Regions from separate parts of the Homo sapiens genome. Here region 2 is linked to region 1. The links are contacts of gene promoters, found by promoter capture Hi-C in human tissues and cell types (Jung and others, 2019). All regions are on one chromosome and are shown on one strand. Each heading gives the region's core, a stretch centred on a gene start or on the middle of the fragment in contact. The rest is flanking DNA. Distances are from core to core; before and after follow the strand shown.

Region 1 (5,917 bases), core at 896-3,395:
TTGGCAAAAAATTGGGTCTGGTCCAAGCAGCACCAGCCATCGTTTATTATTATTATTATTATTTTTAGAGACAGGGTCTTGCTGCGTTGTCCAGGCTGGACATGAACTCCTGGGATCAAACAATGCTCTCACCTCAGCCTCAGGAGTCCCTGGGTTTACAGGCCTGAGAAACCACACCCGGCTACCATCACTCCCTAATGTGCCTGAGAGGAACCCAGGAGGCAGACCAGCTGTTCTTACCAGGACCCCAGGAGGCTAGGTACAAGGGGCTTACCTGCTTCAGAATCTGACTCGAGACTTGATTCTGAGATCTCCACGTGGGAGCCCGAGGAGCCGGGATCCAAAATCCTTTCCAGCTCCTTGATCTCCTGTGTTATCTTCTCTCTTTCAGCATCTACATCCATGACTCCCGCCTGCCTCCAAAACACACCCCGAGATGTTAGAAACCAAGACCGTGCCGGGATCCCATTCTCCTTCAGACACACCCGCCCATGGGGGATGGCAGGAGCCTGCTCGGCAGTGGGCACTGGGCTCCCCAGAGAAAGATTAATAGGCCAGGCACAGAATCGGGGAACCCTGGGACAGGAACCTCAGACCCCACAAACTCCTGCTATGTGCTCTGCCAGGAGCCTAAGCCCCAAGAACATCTCCCGCCTGCTCTGAGGCTGCAACCAGCACAGGCAGGGAGTGGATGAACAAGGACAGGCCCCACTGTCCCGTCTCTGCTCCCACACCAAGCCACATGGAAACTGGCCACCCAGCGTAGAAGGTGTGGGGTGCAGTGGCAAAGTCACTACAGGGCAAGGACACAGCCCGTGACCCACTTTGGCCATCCTGCTCTCCCATGACACAGAGCCGGACCACAGAGGGCATTTGAGAAACGTTCACAGAGACACACACTGAGACTGCCCAGGTGGCAGGCACTAACAGCATGGTTGGGAAGGAAGCTCCCAAAGGGAAGGCTGGCTGTTCTCTGTACATCCAGAACAACGCCTGGAACGTGGCAGTGCCTGACACTAACAAATGTTTGTCAAGCTTTTTTCTTAGGAACTGTGGTCCAGGAAGTCTGAAGGGAGAAGGACGCTAGAGAGAGAGTGGGAGAATGAAACATTAGCAGAGAAAATCTAAAGGAATCACTAGCACAGACCCGGGAGCCCAAAACACCCAACAACAAAGAGAAACGCCCTCCCCCGTCCTTGGCGTGGCTCTCCCTGCTGGAGGCTGACTGGGGCCCTGCCCAACTGGAACAAAACCAAAGCATCCACCCGCGAGCACCGTTAGCCGCATCAGCAGCCCAGGTCCCCTCACTCCTTCACAAAGCCCCTTGTTTATGCCCGAAATGCTTGTGAACCTGTAAACTCAGTTAACAGCCGGCCAGAGGCAGAGCTGGCAGCGACCGCAGGCTGGTTCAGCGCCTCCGGGCCGGCGGAGACGCTTTCCTCTGGAAGCCTCACACGAGGCTGCTGCCTCCCCCTCCCCGTGTCGCTCAGGTGAGCAATGATCAGCAGGAAGGAGGTCAAAGTCACACGTGCTGAGCCACTGACATCAGGGGCTGTCCCTCTCCCCGCACCCCTCTCCCAAGGGCTGGTCATGAGGGCTGCCCACCAAGACGGAGCGCAGCAGGCGGTCCCTCCAGCCCCAGCTGCGGGGACGCCACCCAGACTCGGCTGGGCCCAGGGAACCCCAGGATGCGCCAGGACGATGGGCGTTTAGGCACTGGCTTGGGAGACAGACCCGGCCCAGGCCCAGTTCCGCCTCCTGCTCGCTGCGTGAACTGGGGAAACCCCCTCCGAGGCTCGGCCACCGCGGAATCGCCGGCGCAGTCCCCGAGACGCACGCGGGCGCCCTGCAGCCGGGGCCGCCCCGCCGGAGCCTCCTCGGAGCCCGCAGCCCGCTCCCAGCCGAGGGGCTCCCAGGGCCAGAATCCCCGCGCGCCCAGGCTCGGCCGGACGGGGGCCACGCCGGGCCTCAGTTTCCCCGACTTTGGGCGCTGCCCCGCCCCCGTCCCGGGCCTCGGCTATCCGCTCCTCGGGACAGCGCCCCCTCCACGGGGAGAGCCCTGAAGCTGCCGACGCCACCCGCGCCTCACCTGCTGGGCGCACACCTTACCTGGCCGCGCGGACCCCGCCGTCGCCCGGGCGACTGCAGACTCGACGCTTCCGGCGGCTGCAGAACAAGAGCGCCGCGCGCCGGAAGTCCCGCCTCCTGAGGCGCGGGGCACGCCGGGACGGCCGCTGCGGCCTGCCGGGACTAGAGAGGCGAACGGCTCGATGCTGCCCTCGCGCGGCCGCCCTGGGGGCCGCCTCCGCGCGCTCTGGAGGGGCGCGGGTGGACGCGGGACCTCAAGGCAGGGGACAGACAGGGACAGGCACCCGGCCACCTGGTCACGATCCGGAAGACCGGCCCTTACTGGCTGTGACCTTCGGCCATCGCTGGACCTCTCTGTGCTTGTTTCATCCTCTGTTAACGGACATGTTGGGGTTTGGTTAAGCAACGGATGAGAAAGTCTACGTGAAAGGCTTTTTCCCCAGCCTGCCCTGCATGCTCAGGATCGCCGAGGCCAGGCCGATCTCCAGGCACGTGCAGGAGACTGAGGCCAGAGGGTGGGGGCCCGCACCACACAAACTCGCTTCCCTGGTCACCTGTGCACACCCTCTGGGGTCTCCTGGCCTGGAGAGCTGCCCCGGGGCCCTCCCCTAAGTGGGCATTCATTCCTTCAGGAACGTGCCAGGGCTAACTCGGCCGGGAGCTGGGCAGGGGCCTACAGTTCCTGGCTCCTGAGAGCTTCTAAGTATCGGTGCTGCAAAGACATCCTGGGCCCAGCCAGTTGAGGGGGCCTCCACTCCAGCCTGGGGTGAGCTAGGGGCATCAGCTGGAGAACTATAAAGAGGGTTTGCCCTGCCTACCTAGGAGGTGGGCTTTTGGTGGCAAAGGGCTAGGCCCAGGTGAGGCCAAACTGGGAGCTAGGGATTGGCAAGAAACAGATGGAGGGGATGGAACCAGGCGGCTGGGGGCTCCTCGAGCGCCTCGTTTCAGTCCCTGCATCGGGCTTGAAATCTGGAGGCAGAAGGCAGGCACTAAATACCGCGCCACAAATTGTATTTTTAAACTTCTTACTATCAAACGCTTCAAACACAGACATCAAAAGAGAGGGGTGCGCAAAACCCACATGCCCATCCCCACCGCGCTTCCCTGGGCCCCACCTGCTCCATGAGCTGCTGGCATGAGGGCCAGGGGACCACCCCACTTCACACGCATCTGGTGGATGGGACCCGCCTGGCGATCTGGCCTTTGTGACCCCCACCCCATCAAATGCTGTCTCTCCCAAAGGGCCTCAGGGAAGGCCTGTGGCCTGAGGCATCCTCCCCAGATGCCCCCATCCTGCTGCTACAGGGCTCCCAGAGCTGCCTATACACTCAGAACCTCATTCCGGCACTTCCCAACCACAGCACCCTGTCTCAAGTCAGCTCTGCCAACAGAATCCAGAGCCTGCTTTCACCAACCAGCAGGAGCAGGAGGCGCATAGGGCTACGCAGCAGGACCGCTCCACAGTGACTGCTGGAAAGCTCTGGCCTTCACCTGTAGCTAAGGCTAGGGGTCTAGCAATTCAGACGCCTTGTTTGAAAAATTCAACCACATGATCCGAAAAGATGATCCAATGCTAGAATCCAGTCTGTCCAGCTCTGAAACGTGCAGCTGCGTGACTCACACGTCCATCACGTGTGGGTCCCAGTGGTCAGGCCCAGGCAGCAGTGGTCTGAGTCTGCCCCTAACCCCAAGGGCTGAGGACCTGGAGAGAATCTGCCAGCACAAGGCACCAGTTAGGGCAAGAGCAAGTGAGGTGTGGAAGCCCACGGCGTTCTCCAAGGACTGGCTAAGTCAGCAGAGAAGAGACAGTGCGGTGAACTACAGAATTTATTAAATAAGAAAGCTATCAATTGGAACAGGAGGAAAAAAAAGTTTTAAAAAAAATCTATAGGAAAATAGTCAAAAAAGCATTTAGTGCTCATCGCCGTCCCTCTGAGGGGGGCCGTCAGAAAGGCAACTGGGACCTGACAGACCCGGGCACATACTTGAAATTCCTGAATTCTAACCTGCATTGTACAAAATGCCACTTGAAACGTCCACCAGAACCCCCAGCCAAAGAGGCACATCTGGACAGCTTCACAGCACGGAACGTGTGACCTTGGTCCCCGTGGGTCCCGGAGGAGGACAGCAGCAGCCACGCGGTGGCCCCTGCGCACTCAGGCCATGACTGCAGGGACCACCCACTGGGGCCACAAGAGTGACCCGGGAGCCAGAGGGAGCCCTGAGCATCGGCGGAAGGCACAGGTCCCTGCCCGGGGTGGCCATCTCAGAGGCACATTTAGTGTTTGTTCTACTTATGAAATCAAGGACAACCAATTGTACTTATCTTACAACTGATGTTCTGGGATGGGACTGGAAAACATTGATTCCAGAACCACTCTTTTTCTTAAAATCACTGGCTTTTATGACAATGTCTTCCAAGAGCTCATTAGAATCTATAAGATCGCAGGAATTTCGCCAAGAAGGGCTGCATAGAAACCACAGAGACAACTCGGCCAGGGCTGCTCCCATTGTGGTGGCCAAGAACTGGCTGAGGGCACGACACTGGACTCTTGCGATCAACACTTTACTCTGGGTGAAGACTGCATATTTAAGGACACAACTGCACATTTAGATCGAGCGGTGGTGACCTCAGGGTATACACGGAGCTTCATGCTGAGAACACCCAGGGGTCCTCAAGAGTCTTCCTCCTCGTCTTTAACTTCAGAAATTCTGTCTATAGATTTAAGGATTTCGGCAACAAGATTCAGTGTCTCAGCTCCGGAAACCAGTTGCCTGAAAACAAGCATGGATATCAGGATGGGTGGCAGCAGCTACTCAGCAGCAACAGGGTTCTGGGGGGAGAAAGGGGAGGGGTTGGTAGGGGGAAAAAGGGAGGGGTTCCAAGGGGTAGGGAAAGGGGAGAGGTTCTGAGTGGGAGGAAGGCGAGGGTTTCCAGGGGGAAGAATGGGGAGGGTTTCCACAGGGGGTGGGGGGCAGAAAGGGGAGGGGTTGGTAGGCAGAAAAAGGGGAGAGGTTCTGAGGGGGAGAAAGGGGAGGAATTCCGGGGGTGGGGGTGGGGAAGGAAGGGGAGGGTTTCCAGAGCGGGGAGGGATTCCACAGGGGAAGGGTTCTGGCGGGGAGAAAGGTAAGGGGTTCCAGGGAGAAAGGGACAGAATTCTGGGGGGAGAAACAGAAGGGGTCCCAGGGAGCAAGGGGTGGGGTTTGCCGGGGGGAGAAAGGGACAGGGTTCCAGGGAGCAAGGGGTGGGGTTTGCCGGGGGAGAAAGGGACAGGGTCCCAGGGAGCAAGGGGTGGGGTTTGCCGGGGAAGAAAGGGACAGGGTTCCTGGGAGCAAGGGGTGGGGTTTGCCGGGGGAAGAAAGGGACAGGGTTCCTGGGAGAAAGGGAGGGGCTGGGGGAGAACCACAGGTTTTCCACTCCTAGCTCCTCTTGGAGGAGACCCACACCTGACTTCACAGGAGACGGCTCCCTTGTTCACAGGGAGTGCTCTGGGGGCCAACACCGCCCTGCAGAGCTCAGCCCAATGGGTGGCAGACACTCACCACTGTCACAGTCATGGTGGCTGGCGTGTCCCCAGCCAGGCACAGCAGTAAGGGCCTTCTGGGAAGTGGCTTTTTCAGCAGGAGGGAAACCCCCACTATTTCCTTTATTCAGAGCTTCAGCGCCCACATGGGGTGGGGCTGAGGTTCAGTGCAGGGTGCTGTGGCTGTCTGCACCTCCCAGGTGGGATCAGACACTGCGAGGCAGGTTAGAAAGCCTGTGGTCTGTCCACACAGTGACCCAGAGAGCTAACAGGACCACTGAGCACGCGTCCCTCCCTGCAGCTCC
Region 2 (5,917 bases), core at 982-3,481, 260 kb after region 1:
CTACTTAGCTATTCCTGCCCCGAGCTGTCCCCTGGCCGGATAGGTCTGATGACAGGGGCTGCTCCAGGTTGGGACATAGGACAAGCTGGGGTGGGGGACATGGGGCTCCCCAAGAAGAGGAAGGAAGGGTGAGGCAGCCTCCTGTGCCGAGCATCCCAGCCCTGTCCGGCCTCCAGGCTCACCTGGGCCGGTCACTTCTCCCTCTGGGCCTCAGTTTCCCCCTCTGTACACAGAAAGGGCTGGATCTAGCCCACCCCATGCTTGTGGGTCCTTCCACCAGGAGGCCAGGGCAGATCCAGGGGCATGCAGGTGGGGGAGGAGGGGGCAGGCCGCAGGGATGCAGGCAGAGGGCAAGAGGGCACCTCCTGGGATGGGGGCACAAGCCTACTGGGCCCCTATACGGTGGAGTAGCTAAGTAGCCGAGTGCACGAGTTGCTAAGGCTTGGCCCGCTGGGGGCCTTCCCGGTGAACTGACTGCTGTGCTTACAGCCAGGGGCGAGGGCAGAGTCTGGGTCCTCCCCAGGCTGTCCTCCTGGCACTGGACTCCTGGGTGACAGCCTGGGGGACTGGGCCCGGCCTGCTGCCAACTTGTTCTTCACTGCAACCCCCTCCTGACAGCTGGAGGGACAGGCTGGCCAGGGCAGGATGAGCCCCTGGGTGGGAGAGCCAGGGGGCCGAGGGAGGCACAGGGCGGCTGAGGGTGCAGCCAGTAGGGTAAGGGCCAGATCCCAGGGTGGCCTAGTGTGGAGGAGGTGGGGAAATGGGGTTCTGCCTATCTGCTCCAACCTCAGGGCAGGGGCCACCTCTGGAAAGAGGCCCCTCCCGCTCAGACCAGCGGTGCCTGGGTGCCAGGAGCGCCCCCTTAAACCAGCTCAGTGACCATGAAGCAGGTGCAGAAACAGGCCCGGAGAAGAGTGAGGTCCTGCCTGGCTGAGGCCCTGAGCCCTGACCACAGCCTGGCGCCCAGAGCAGACCCTTCCCCTGGCCGTGGGTAGAGGGGAGCTGGTTCCTGCTTGAGGGGGAGGCGCATCGCGTGTGGGTGAGGTTTCCACCTGCCCTCCAAAGTCCCGTGGGGAATTTCCCCAGCTGCCCCAGCCTCCCTTGGCTCAAGTTGCCCAGCTGAGTGGGGCTGGAGAGGTGGGGGCACACTGACCGCCCAGGGCCAGGGAAATGGGGGTGTCCCAGGCATCAGGCCGACAGGGGCTGACCCCAAAGCAGGGCTCACACCCCACGGACAGCGGGGTTGGGAGAGGCCCTGCTCTCCTGGGGTTCCAGGCGTGCCCTCCAAAGCCACCCAGCTCCCTTCGGCACCGTGTCCCCTCCCACCCAGCCCACCTTTGCCACAGTGGCTCGCTCGGCCTGAGGCTCCCACTGCCGTGTGAACAGGGAAGATGAGGGTCAGACCTGGAGGCTGGGACGCCGGGAATCTGACAGAGCACCCCCTGTGATCACCCACAGTGTCCCGCATCCCTCCCCACACCCCCGGCCGCAGCCTGCTGCCAGCCCAGAGCACCCCTGTGAAGTGGGGCTGAGGGCATTGGGCCTGCTTGCCCATCTCCAGGGCAGGGGCTCACAGCCTCACTGGCAGCTCTTTTAGGGGAGAGAGCTTGGACTCCATGCTTGTCCCCTCCCGTCACCCCCTCACCATGGGCCTCAGGGACCCACGGAACAGGCTGTTCTCGGACCGCTCAGCCTGTCTTGCCACCCCAGTCCCTTCCTGCCGGGCCTCGCCACTCGCCATCCCTCACTGGTCAAGGCTCCTGTGTGGCTGGTCCCTGCCTTGGCCTGGGGCCCCTCCAAGCTCCCGTGCTGTGTCACACACATCTGGGGGTGTCCTGGGGGAGGGCCCAGCATCCTTGGCCCAAAGATGCAGCAGCTCCCTTCTGTCCAGCCACACGTGAGCATGGCCTGTGAACCCACGGTCCTGGGAGGGCCCTGGGCTTGCGTCCTCCACCCCACACTCTCCCCAGGGTCTCCAGCAGGGTCCAGCCCTGGTTTCTGGCTGTTTTGGGGCTAGACTCTGATGGCCCAGGGGACGGCTTCCCCACCCCTGGGCAGTTTGTCCAGGCCCCCTCACACGGTGGCCCCCACCCCCCTCAGCCTCCTGTTTGTCCGACGACACGTCCCCGTTATCAGCGGAGAACACACACAGGAAGTCCGGCTGGGAAGGGCCCATCCCAATCCCGATTACCCAGGACGGAGCATAAAAAGCCGCCCTTCCTCGCCCGGGGGGAGCCTCCCTGCACCAAGCTGGCCCTGCACGGCTGCAAGGGAGGCTCCTGTGGACAGGCCAGGCAGGTGGGCCTCAGGAGGTGCCTCCAGGCGGCCAGTGGGCCTGAGGCCCCAGCAAGGGCTAGGGTCCATCTCCAGTCCCAGGACACAGCAGCGGCCACCATGGCCACGCCTGGGCTCCAGCAGCATCAGGTATGGCAGGGGTGGCCTCGGAGGGGCAGGGAGCGGACAGGGCGGGCCCCCCATTCCCCTCACTCCCGCTGACCGTGGCGCCTGCTGGCTGCTCCGCAATCTGCTCCCCAGCGAGGTCACAGGGGAGGGGTCCCAGTCTCCTCCCCTTCTGCACAGAGGAGGCCACTGAGGCCCCTTGGCCAAACGCCTGCTAGTGGGTGGCCCAGCGTAGATCCCAATCCAGTCTGCTGACTCCAACACTTCACCCCCAGTCGCCCTTCCCCTGAACCCCACCCTCTGGCCTTTCTCTCCCTCCGCAGAGCAGCCCCTGTGGTTGGCAGCAAAGTTCAGCTTGGCTGGGCCCGCTGTGAGGGGCTTCGCGCTACGCCCTGCGGTGTCCCGAGGGCTGAGGTCTCCTCATCTTCTCCCTAGCAGTGGATGAGCAACCCAACGGGGGCCCGGGGAGGGGAACTGGCCCCGAGGGAGAGGAACCCCAAAGCCACATCTGTAGCCAGGATGAGCAGTGTGAATCCAGGGTGCGGGACGTGGGGCTCGGGCTTAGGGATGACTTGCTGGGTGCGGTGGGCAAATGGGTGACTCTGTGGGCCCCCCTTGGACCCTGGAGACGCCCTTGTTCTCCCTCTCCCCAGCCTCATGCAGAGTGGCTGAAGCCCCATCCCAAAGCCCCCAAAACCACAGTGGGTCCTAGAAGGCCCCACTTTTTGTCTCATACGTCCACACCAAGAAGCCTGTCTGAGAACCCCCACTTTCCAAATGGTGCCTAGCCAGGATGGGGGCAGCGAGGGCTGAGTCGGGGCAGCCCTGGAGCTGCCCTTTCTGCTCCATCGCCTCTTCCAGACTCAGGCAGGAGAGGTGGGGAGGCAGGTCAAAGGGTTAAGTGACCGCAGATCCAGAGATGAGGCCAGGGGCAGGGGACAGGGAGGGTGGCGGTGGCTCTCCCACCCAGAGGCCCCCTAGGCCCCACTCTGAACACTTCACTGCTGGGGGCTAGGTAAGAGCTGCCCTGCGTGGGCTCAGGGCGCCAGGAGGCCTAGGACTCCCCAGTCAGATGAGGAACGCCCCCTGACAGCAGCTGCTCTGGTCGTCCCTTGGACCACGTGCCAGGGGCTTCCAGGGCCCCTGGTCCAGAGCAGTGGCCACTGGATTGCAGGGTGGGGCGGCCTCATTTTGGGGACTCCTCTCCAGGGACCTGGGCCCCTCCCTTCCTCCAGCTCCCATGCACCAAGGTAGGACCAAGCTGGTGGCCCTCTCGGACCCATCTGCAGGCCCCTTGCCCAGCACCCTGGGTTACATGGAGAGACCTCCAGCTCCACTCACAGCAGCCTCCCATCCCCATGCCAGGGAGTCCAGGGCTGGAGGCAATAACCCCATTTTACTGAGGCCAGGGGCTGCGGATCCGAGAGGACAATCAGCTCAGGACAGGATGGGGTCGGGGTAGGTGCAGGACAGGGGCCTGTAGGCCTAGTGCAGGCGGAGGTCCCACAGCAGCACCGAAAGCTGGTCCCGGGCCCCTTCCCAGCCCCCAGACATCAGGGTGACCAGGACTGTGCATAGGCACTAACCCACAACTCCTCTCCAACCAGCAGCCCCCAGGACCGGGGAGGCACAGGTGGCCCCCACCACCCGGAGGAGCAGCTCCTGCCCCTGTCCGGGGGATGACTGATTCTCCTCCGCCAGGTGAGTCCCAGCAAACCCCTTGCTCCGAGGGAACACTTCTCACACCGGCGCCCACGCGGGTTATGACACAGGGCGCTGGCTCCGGCTGGGGTCTGAGGGGCTGCTGAATTGGGCTGGCCCGAGCCCCACGTGCCGCGCCCGCAGTAACAGCTGTAACAATTGTTGTGTGGCCACGACCTCACCGTCACTAGATCCCAGGGCTGTTTAGCCCCATCTTATAAATTTGGAAATGGAGGCCTGGAGAAGAGAGGTGACCAGCCCAGGGACCTCTGGTGTGAGGAGACTCTCTGGGGGCCTGTGGATTCGCTGGGAGGAGTGTTCTGCGATGGCCCTGACTGTGCTGAACTCAGCAGTGACCCAGTGACCCCGGTGAGGGTGCCTGATGCCTGAGAGAGGGCCAGGTGGGGGCCGGCGCAGGGGCCCCCAACCTAACACGCTAAGGCTAGGAGGCAGGCCTGGGCTCTGCCATGTGGTCTCAGAGGAGATCTGGGTCTCTGGGCCTGCGGTGGGGACGGTCATGATGCCCACTGCCTGCGAGGCTGCAGGACCCAGCTCAGTGCTAACCTGCGCCGGGCGCCTACCGCGCGGCCCCCCAGCGGCTGAGATGGGCGTCCCGGGGTGGTTTTCAGCCTGGGGGGCTTGAAAGCTAGCAAAGGGCCCGCAGCCCCGTCAGTGTGGGCGCCCTGGGCGGCCTCTCCTGGCTCCTGGCGGCCGGGCTTGGTCGTGCGTCCCCAGCGACCGCGCAGCGAGCGCCCTGCCGCGGGGACTCGGGCCCCAGGATTCCCGGAGGGGGTGCTGGCGGGCCGCGGCTCAGAGGCGCGTTTGCGTCAGCCCCGGGTTCCAGCAGAGTCACTGCCCGCCCGGGGGCAGCTCGTCCGCCGCGGGGCCTCAGTTTCCCCGTCTGCGCAATGGGGGCGGGGCGGGGCCGCCAGGTGGGGCGGGGCCGGGGGCGGGGCGGGGCGGGGCTCGGGGCCCCCACGGCGCGGGCTCGGGCGGCAGTGGCGGCGGCGCGTGCGCGCCCCGGATCCGGCGGTGAGTGCGGAGCGAGCGGGGCGCGCCGGGGTCGGGGTCCGGTCGCCGCCCGGGCTGGGTCGAGGGCGGGACCCGCGGAGCCCCCGGGGGCGGGGAACCTGGCCGCGCGCGGAGCTGGGGGCGGCTCCGGGACGAGGCAGCGCGACCGCTGGGGCCGGGGGCGGAGCGGGCCGGGGCGCCCGCGGCTGGGTCGGGCCGGGCCGGGAGAATGGGCCCAGCGGCCCCGGGAACCGGCTCCCCCTGCCGGCGGCGGGCGGGCGGGCGGCGCGGCGGGGAGGGCCGGGGTCGCCGCGGCCCCTCGTCCGACCCGGCGCGACTCAGCGCCTCGGGGCCCAGCCTGTGCCGCCTGCTCCGCCCCCCGCGAACCCCGGAGCCAGCAGCGCGGCTGGGAGGGGGCGGCGGGCAGGTCCGTCTCGCTCCGCCTCTGCGCCCTCCCTCGTGGGCCCCGCGGTCCCCAGCCCTGCTCCCGCCGCGAGGGGTCCGCCAGTGCCTGCGGCGCAGCCAGGCCCCTCCCTCTGCGGACCCGGCCTCTCGCGGGTGGGGGCTGCGGGGCTGCTGCCGGGCAGGTGGGGAGGGAGCCCGTGGGCGCTGGGGGCACGGGGACCGGACTGCTGGTCCACCTGGCGCCGCCGCCCCCTCCCCGCCCGGCACCCCTGGGTCGAGGCCGTGGCCCCCCCCGGGGAAATGGGGCTTGCAGCACCGGCTCGGAGAGCACCACGGGCTTCCTCTGGCCTCGGGAAAACATGACTTTCAAAAATTGAGTCTCCACTTAGCACCGCTTCCT

The links. Contacts are between HindIII fragments. The study calls those that stand out against the background at their distance.
Region 2: the fragment with the promoter of EGFL7 here is called in contact with the fragment with the promoter of SNAPC4 in region 1 in 1 of the 25 tissues and cell types used here (mesendoderm cells).

What each region holds. Positions count from the first base shown.
Region 1 is chr9:136,398,025-136,403,941 of GRCh38, forward strand. It overlaps SNAPC4 (small nuclear RNA activating complex polypeptide 4), which reads right to left and starts at 2,146. Exons shown (of 24, transcript NM_003086.4): 1 at 2,110-2,146; 2 at 275-413. The coding sequence starts at 404. ENTR1 (endosome associated trafficking regulator 1) reads right to left here. Exons shown (of 10, transcript NM_001039707.2): 10 at 3,898-4,863. The coding sequence ends at 4,764. RefSeq lists enhancers at 1-629, 2,359-3,295 and silencers at 1,804-1,913, 1,984-2,113, 2,184-2,393, 2,544-2,593. The HindIII fragment of the contact is 18,374 bases long and covers 1-4,453 here.
Region 2 is chr9:136,660,685-136,666,601 of GRCh38, forward strand. EGFL7 (EGF like domain multiple 7) reads left to right here and starts at 2,232. Exons shown (of 11, transcript NM_016215.5): 1 at 2,232-2,424; 2 at 2,724-2,939; 3 at 4,008-4,101. The HindIII fragment of the contact is 17,984 bases long and covers 1-5,917 here.